Linked DNA regions of Homo sapiens: region 2 is linked to region 1. Evidence: promoter capture Hi-C in 16 types of primary human blood cells and fetal thymus (Javierre and others, 2016). All regions are on one chromosome and are shown on one strand. The core of a region is centred on a gene start or on the middle of the fragment in contact, and the rest is flanking DNA. Distances in the headings are between cores, read along the strand shown.

Evidence for each region. Contacts are between HindIII fragments. The CHiCAGO score rates a contact against its expected background, and 5 or more counts as called.
Region 2: a contact is called between the fragment with the promoter of CCDC24 here and a fragment that was not itself captured in region 1, in 1 of 17 cell types (endothelial precursors). The highest score is 6.0, in endothelial precursors.

Annotation. Positions count from the first base shown.
Region 1 is chr1:43,763,111-43,767,186 of GRCh38, reverse strand. All of the region lies in intron 2 of ST3GAL3 (ST3 beta-galactoside alpha-2,3-sialyltransferase 3), which reads right to left. Among named protein-coding and RNA genes, the nearest start is that of ST3GAL3-AS1, 38 kb to the right of the region's middle. RefSeq lists enhancers at 1-298, 3,337-3,396, 3,427-3,516. The HindIII fragment of the contact is 836 bases long and covers 1,853-2,688 here.
Region 2 is chr1:43,989,280-43,993,355 of GRCh38, reverse strand. It overlaps CCDC24 (coiled-coil domain containing 24), which reads right to left and starts at 1,757. Exons shown (of 9, transcript NM_152499.4): 1 at 1,610-1,757; 2 at 1,352-1,509; 3 at 969-1,144; 4 at 717-833. The coding sequence starts at 1,477. B4GALT2 (beta-1,4-galactosyltransferase 2) reads right to left here. Exons shown (of 7, transcript NM_003780.5): 7 at 2,188-3,058. The coding sequence ends at 2,908. RefSeq lists silencers at 1,304-1,353, 1,494-1,603. The HindIII fragment of the contact is 1,600 bases long and covers 822-2,421 here.

The DNA of each region.
Region 1 (4,076 bases), core at 1,021-3,520:
AAGCATCTGTCCGTCCCTGAAACTCCTCAAGTGGTGAAGTGCTGTGGCTATTGGTATCCCTACCTCTTTTCTTTCTCTCGCAATCTAGCCTCCACACAGCTGCCAAAGTGAGCCTTCTAAAATGCAAATCCGACCACATTTCTCTCTCTCCTTTTCATCAGCTGCTTCCGCCTAACTCAGAATCCAAACTCTGCATTCCACACAAGACTCTCCCAGCCCTTTTCCAGGCCCCTCCACTTTATTCATGCTACTATCACTGCCTAGAATGCACTTCTCATCTTATTCATTCATCTTTCAAGTCCAGGCTTGAGAGTCACTTCCTCTTATTTTGCTGAGGGAATAAAGGAACACAACCTCCCATTTTAAATTCTAGGTGCTCAACAGAAATTCCAGAAGAGACCTCTGTGTTGTTAATTTTCCTTCACACAAAAGTCCAGAACACTACTTTTCCACCAGGTCTTTCCATTAAGGGTAGAAGCCTTTAATGGCCCTGCTGCATTAAATCTAAACTCCACACCTCACCTTAGGGCCTTCTGTCATCGACTCTGCCCTGCTCTGCAATCCTCGGTCTCACTACTCCCCGCCCCCCACCATTCCTCACAAGCCGCTCTCAGCTCTCACTGAAGCTTACAAAATATTTCGAGTACTCTGTCTGCTAGAGCACTTTCCCAGGTCCCCACATGTCCTACCCCAACCGCCAGGTCCCTGCTTCAGTGCCCATCTCTTCCTCAAAGCTTTCCTTGACATCACTTCTTATTTATTTACTTATTTTTTTTTAAATCGCCACTTCTTTGTTGTCTCTGAAACACTTCATCTCATTGTCTTGTCCTTGGTTACTTCCTGTGAGTCTCAGCTTTCAGTCTTTAAAATTCCCAGGCCCAGGCACCTCTCTTCCTAAATGCCCCACACTGCCTGGAATAAAGCTGAGTAAGTAACAAGCTGTCAGTCAGCAGTAATCCTCATAGACTGACAGAAGAAGTCATTGATATCTCTCCCTTGGCCTCTCTTCCTCTGACTTAAGGGCTACTTGGGTGGTATTCATGTGAATCCGGGCAAGGAGCTGTCAGGGCTATTTGAATGACTATTTCCTTGTAATTTCCTCCACTGGATTTTTTATTCCAGCTCTTAGAGGAGAAATAGGAACATGAATAATGGTGCTGGTCTCAGTGAAGAGACCTGTCTCTTCAAGCTTCTTTCTTCAAGCACAGAGAAGCTCATGTGCTTCCCTGCAGCACACATCTATCTCCATTGTTACCATGTGAAAGACATCAATCCTGTTATGGCTGAGGGAAAGAGGAGCTTGTTTTTACAGCTACATGGCAGGATCAGAAGCTTCTCAATCTTCTCCTATACCACTAAAAAAAAAGCGCACGCGGACGCGCGGACGCGCGCGCGCGCGCGCACACACACACACACACACACACACACACACAGACACACACAGACACACACATGCACATGAAATTGTTTTACCCTTTTTTGCCTTTCCAGAGCAAGGAATCCTTAAATTCTCAGCTCTGTATTCCTCCCTTCTTTTCCTTCTCTCTGATAAAGTTTAGCTTTCCTCAGCCTTTTAAAATGTCCCCAGGTAAGTAAAACTATGATACTATGATGGTGGCAATTTAAGTATTTTAAGTGTGGGGAACCTAAAACATACAGTTTTAGAAGTGTCTTTGATTCACCAATAGTGATGAAATGGAGCCACCACACAGGTATGAGCAACATCACAGTGTAGCTGTGAGGGCTACGTGGCCTCCTCTCAGTTAGGTGGGACCACACGACTGAGTACTGATCTGTGGAACGTGCGCTGCAGGGAAGCACATGAACTTCTCTGTGCTTGAAGAGAGAAGCTTGAAGAGAGAGGTCTCTTCACTGAGACCTGCACAGTTCTCCATGTTCCTGTCCATTTCTCCTCTGGGAGCTGGTTTAGAGAATCCAGTGAAGGACTCCAGGCCCTAGGGCCTGGGGGAGTCACTAGATGAAGTCTGTGGCCCTAAATGAATTAGGTAGAGCAGAATTCCTCCCCACCAATATAGAACTGCACCAGATTGTGACAGGAGAGAAATAACCTTTATTGTGTTAAAACCACTGAAATTTGGGGGTAGTTGGTTACACTAGAGTTCACCCTGACACTAAAATGATAAATGAAAAATGAAATTATTTTTATTTTTATTCTTAAAGTTAAAAATAACAAGTATTCTTAAGTATTGCTTCAAAGCAATTCTGTCTAAAGCTGTCTTCTATTACTCTACCAGCCCTTTCAGGAGAGCCCTTTGGGCACTATGGTGGAAGCTGTAGAGGCCACTCAGTAACTAAAGGGCTTATTCCCCAGCTGCTGGGATGGTGAAGGACAGAAAGGCCTCAACTGTCAGCCCTCTTCAGGGAATGCATCTGCTGAAGAGCGCTGCCTGGCCCACGGCCATGCCCCTTCCTGGGGCAGCCCTCGTCCAATGACGGGTCAGGAGGAGCTGTAAAGGCACAGCTCTCTCACTCTATGGCTTAGAAAACATGGATTATCTGAGCCCTAGTCCCCATGGGGTGGGCTGAGGCCTTTTACTGAGACTGAATCACGGCCCGATTTTTCCCCCTATACAATCTCCACATCTTTCCCTTTTCTTTTCCCTTCTTCCTCATTTCCTTTCTTTTCCTTCCAGGAGTATTGATTCCATAACCACTCCCTAATAAGCTTTTCACACCCTAATCTTTATCTCAGAGTTTGCTTCCCCTGGATCTCGGCCTGAGACAGGTACTATATCCCGATGCAATATTGTGTTGCGCGACTCTACCTCATTATATAGCCCAAATACTATATTTTCCAATCAAAAATACACAAAATCACAGTGGGATGGAACCTTTAAAATTGAGACTCTGCAAAAATTCAGAATGTACTATACTATTAAAAGACTGTTTATAAGAAAGTAAGAAATACCACAGACATTTTGAGGGCCCCTCTGAGAAAAGGAGCTCTGAAATTGTCTTAAGGAAAATATTACCTCCTTGCTTATAACCAAATAAATTATTAAATACATAACAGAGCTACATAAAAGTTATTAAGGATCTATTAATATTATTCATCTGTGCTGATACCTTGTACTATTGTAATTATAGCAGTTACTTTCTGAGTGTTCACAACACAGTGCTAAGAGCTCTACACACACTATCTCATTGAATAAATGACAGTTAAGAAATGACCCAAAGTCACATAGCCAGGACTCAACGTTAGGTGGGGTGGATTCCAAAGCCTCAACTCTTATGTTCCACTATGTTGTAATGCCTCTACTGTCTTGCATATTCAAGCTCTGAGAGAGGTTAACACTGTAAGGAGTATAGTTCACTAAGTAATTTGCAGGGGAGCCTGGAACATAAGGCAGATATAGAGGATTCCAAAACACACACTCTCTCCTCTCACCCCTCCATTGCCTCCTCTGATGGCTTAGACACTGGCCTGCCTTTGGATGCCCACGGTCTAGTAAGTGAGTTGAAGAACTACTCCATGCAGGATTTTGCCAGAAGTCATTCCAGCGCTAATCTGTCCTGTGGCAATCAAAAGGTTCTTCTGCCCTCTTGTGGCTCAGGGTGACTGCTACATATCAAAGCTCCATTAAAAAGCTGAAACACCATATAAAGGCACTTGGCAGCCAGGCACAAAACAGCAGAAGGCAACGCTGATTGGCTTGAAATGGAGCCTATTTAATAACCTAAAAATTTGATCCGCCACTCCTCCATGCCAACTATTGCTCATAATAAGAAAGTTAGAAAGAATAACAGAATACTAGAACTCATAGAAAAACAAACCCAAGAACCCAGTATCTCGTAATTGTAAGGAATATAACAACCAGCTACATCCATTTACAACAATGATAAAAGTTTAAAACATTATAAGCCCCAAAGAAAACTCCCCATCCTTGCTTTTTTACACCTAACAGTATATTTCAGAAATCTTTTCATATTAGTGTATACAGAGCCTCCTCATCTTCAGGTGCAGAGTACTCACCGGATGGGGGAACCATGATTTAATTAACTTGTTCTCTACTGGTAAACATTCTAATTGCTTCCAAATTTTTGCTATTAAAAAC
Region 2 (4,076 bases), core at 508-3,007, 230 kb before region 1:
TATCCCACCTCAGCCTCCCAAGTAGCTGGGAATACAGGCATGCGCCACCTCACCTGACTATTTTTTTTTTCACTTTTTGTAAAGATGGGGTCTCCCTGTATTGCCCAGGCTGATCTCAAACTCCTGGCCTCAAGCCATCCTCCCGCCTCAGCCTCCCAAAGTGCTGGGATTACAGGCATGAGCCACTATGCCCGGCCTTTAATTTCCTCTTGTGCAAAATGGAGATTTTGCCCACCTCCTCAGGCTGTGTGAGGATTAGAATAAGAAGTTGCTGCCATCCACTTATGAATATTTTATCTCATTCAGTCCCAGCTGTAAATACCATTTGTGACCATCCTCTTCAGCTCTCCCTGCCTCCCTAGCCCAGCCCTCACTCCTGTTCTCTAGGCCAGAGGAACAACCGCCTGCTGGACATGGCTTCCTTTCTTCCCTCTTCCTACAAAGCTCTTCTCTTTCATCTCCCTGAAAACTGCTCCTCATACTACAACACGCAGATCAAACCACTTTCTCCAGGAAGCTTTGCCTGTCCCCAGGCTAGGCAGGTGTTTCCTCTGGGTTTCAGTAGCCCTCATGGGCTGATAATCTCTATCACAAGTGGCGGTGGAAGTGCCCAGCCCGTGACTGGAATCTCCTGCATGGAGCCAGGTGCAACCCACCAGTGGGCTAGGGCCCTCTGCCAAGCAGGGACAGATCCCTCTCTCCTACCATCACCTTACCTGGGCCCACCACCTCTCATCTGGAATATCTCCTGTTCTGGCAAATCACACCTGGGCTCCTCCAAGGCAAAGTGCAGGACCCTGGGGCTATACTGGACCCAAGCTTGGGCCTGGTCCCTGCAGAAGGTGCACAGGAAGGAAGCTGAGAGGCTCCTTTCTGGAAACCACAGAAAAGGCAACCCTGGCTCCTTGTTAGGGGCAGCGCTAGCCCACCTGGTATCTAGGGAAAGGGCCCAGGCCTGAGGCTCCCACCTGCCCTCACAGATGGCTTTGTGGCGGAGACCCTGGAGCAACTGCCGGAGCTCCTGGCGCAAGAGGTCCTTTAGGAGAGGCGGTGGTGCCAGAAGAGAAGAGGGGTCAGAGATGGGGCGGGAGCTGGGGGCTTGAGAGGATCGAGCCTCTTGGAGCAGTGCCCGTAACATCGCCACCTGCAAGGAGAGCTGGGATACCTTGCGACTGGGGAGGGGAGTGTCCGGAATGGTGGGGGCTGGGGGAGTGAGGGAGAGGGCGGAGTCAAAGGGGAGACCAGGATAGGATCTCGGGAGTTACCCGGCAGGGCCAGGGACCCGCAGAGGTGGGAAATCACCCGAGTCGTGGGGCAGGCCAGGGGCGTGGCCCACCTTCCCTCTCCCCACCTCCGCCCGCAGCTCCAGGCTCAGGTCCACCGCCGCCTCCCCCAGAATCCTCTTCACTTCGCGTCGCTCCCGGAGCGGAACGTGCTCCTCCACCAGCTCCCACAGCGAGGGGGAGTGCCGGAGCATGACCCACCGACGCCGCCGTCCCCGGCTCGGACCTACGGGCCGCAGGTCAGAGTGCGGGAGGTACCGCGGGCCCGCCGGCAACGCTCACCAAACCCCGCCCCTCTATGGGCCCCGCCCTCTCCCAAGCCCCACCCGTGCTCTGCCGCTGGTCCCCTCGGCTGGGATTGCCCGTTCCGGAACTGCCAGTCCTTGGCGCTCTCTTCTGCCCGGCTTTTGGCCGACTCGGATGCCGGGGGCCCAGAAACCAGGCAGTGGGAACCAGGGCCCTAGCCCCACCTCTTCCGCGTGGCCATCACCCGGGAAACCACGCCGCGACTCTAGGGCCCCGCCCCCTCCCGTGTTTGGTCCGGCGGGCGGCGCGTGCCGGCTGGGAGTTCAGACTCACCTCGGCGCTCCACCGAGCCCTGACCCAAGCACTTTGGGCTCGGCCCTGGGCACCTTTAGGCCTCAGGGAACGTGTTAAGACCTGAGAAATCTGGGTCCACGGGTTTATTACTTCGTCGCCTCCACTGTCCCGGAAGCAGTGCAAGGACAAACTTCCCCTTAAGGCCAGTGAAAGCCTAGGGAGTGGCAGCGCTTGGAGAACCAGGATGGCCCGGGTCAGGTTTACTTGTTGGGCCAGGTTCCCCAAGTGCCCTTCCACCACAACACACTCAGGGTAACCACGTTCAGGGACCCGACCCCCACCCCCAAACAGACAAGGGAGCTGCTCCATTCACGTTTTTTACTAAAGCACCCACACAAGTTTCTGTGCAATGTACAAACACAAGCCGGCCCTGGGGCTCCTGCCTCCTCTCTCAGACAGGGAGGCGGGAACCAGACTTACTGATCCAAGCCCCACCTGCCTCCCATGCAAAGGCCAACCCCAAGATCCCAGGCAGCGACACAGCATCCCCTCTGGTCCCCTCCTGGGGCTGCTCCTCAGCAGGGGGCGCACCAAAGCTTGCCCCCTACAATGTTGAATGAAAAAGGTTTCCCCTCCCCTGGGAGCAAGGGGGTTCCCAAGAGCTGAGAATTCCCCCTGGAAGAGACACTGCCCCCTAGACATACCTCCCACCCTTCCAGGCCCTAGGGGACTCAAGGGGGGGAAACTGAGGCACAGAGAGGTGGAGTGACCTAGCCCAGGCCACTCTGCGAGGCAGTGCAGGGGCTGGCCCGACCCTGACAGTGACTGGGGCTGGGCTAGGGGGAGGGGGTCGGGAAGGAGGGTTGACTCCAAAGAGGGCCACACTTGAAGAGCCTGCCCAGGCAGGAGGCCCCCCAAAGTGGGTTCTGAAACTTCCAGGTGTAGCTAGGGGGCCTAGTGAAGACCCTTGGAAAACAGAGCCCAGTCTCAGTCCTGGAGGTCCTCCACAGAGCAGCTGCCAGCCAGGCTGTGGTCAGTCCTCTGGCAGGCAATCTTCGGCACCGAGAGCCTCTGTCCATTAGTGTCAGCCCCGAGGGGGCCACGACGGAGGCCGCCCAATGTCCACTGTGATATTGGTGAAGAGTGGTTGCCGAGACACCTCCAAGACCTGGTACCGCACTGACCCAATGCCGTCCCGCTTCATGGTCAGCTTCGTGTTTTGAATCTTGGTAAACCTAGATAGGATGGAAATGGTCCACATCAGGGCTAACAACTGTAAACTAAAAATAAAATCCTACACCCCCCAACCAACTAAATGGACCCCCTTTTGGCCAAGGGGACCCCAGGGAACCTTAAAAACAGGGTTTCCAGCTATGATGGGAAGGGACGTCAAACATGCCATGTTATGCCCACGCCCTTTTGCAGCTTAGACACAACAAATGACCAGCATTAACGTCAAAGCAGAGATCACAAGACTGACAGAATGCATTGTTTGTGTCAATAAGATACCTAATTATAAATAGGATCTAAGGCCATGCCAGGCAAGGGTTAAGTCTTGCACCTCTGCACTTAAAGAAGAGACTATGCTCTAACTGCCGCGAGGATTTTCTTTTTCTGTAGCAGCTAAACAAGTACAGGACTTGAGATAACCAATATTAAAACAATTTGTATAATGTGGTAATATAAATAATAGAAAAAAATTTGCAGCTCACCCACTGCCAGATGCTGACCCCTACGCCCCTGTTCCACAAGCCATAATTATAGCTTTGGTGGGACAAGAGACTGATCTCAGTAACTTTCTCCTGATAAGACCATCGGCCATGGACTGGTTCTAGCCAGCTTACAGAGGCTGCGCACTTGAGTGCTTTTGTCTTTTTGACGTATGGGGCCTAACTGCGATATATTTAAATATTAAGTCTCCACCCCAAGGTGAACATGGATGGTATATAACATGCATGTTTGTTCGATATGCATATGTCAGGACCCCCTCCGTAAATATTCATAGCTCCTCCAGTAACCTGTTGACCAATCCATTCAACTAAAATTCCTATCTCACTCCTCCCTCCCTCAAAGTGCCTGTTAAGGCTTTGGCTGGAGGCTCTGCTTCCTAGCCAGTGGGATGGCCAGCCTGCAGGTTGTAACCCTTTATAAAAGAGAAATAAAGTCTCCTTTTCAAATTTATTGATCTAGTGATTTTTTTTTTTTTTTTTTTGAGACAGAGTACAATGGCACCACCTCGGCTCACTGCACCCT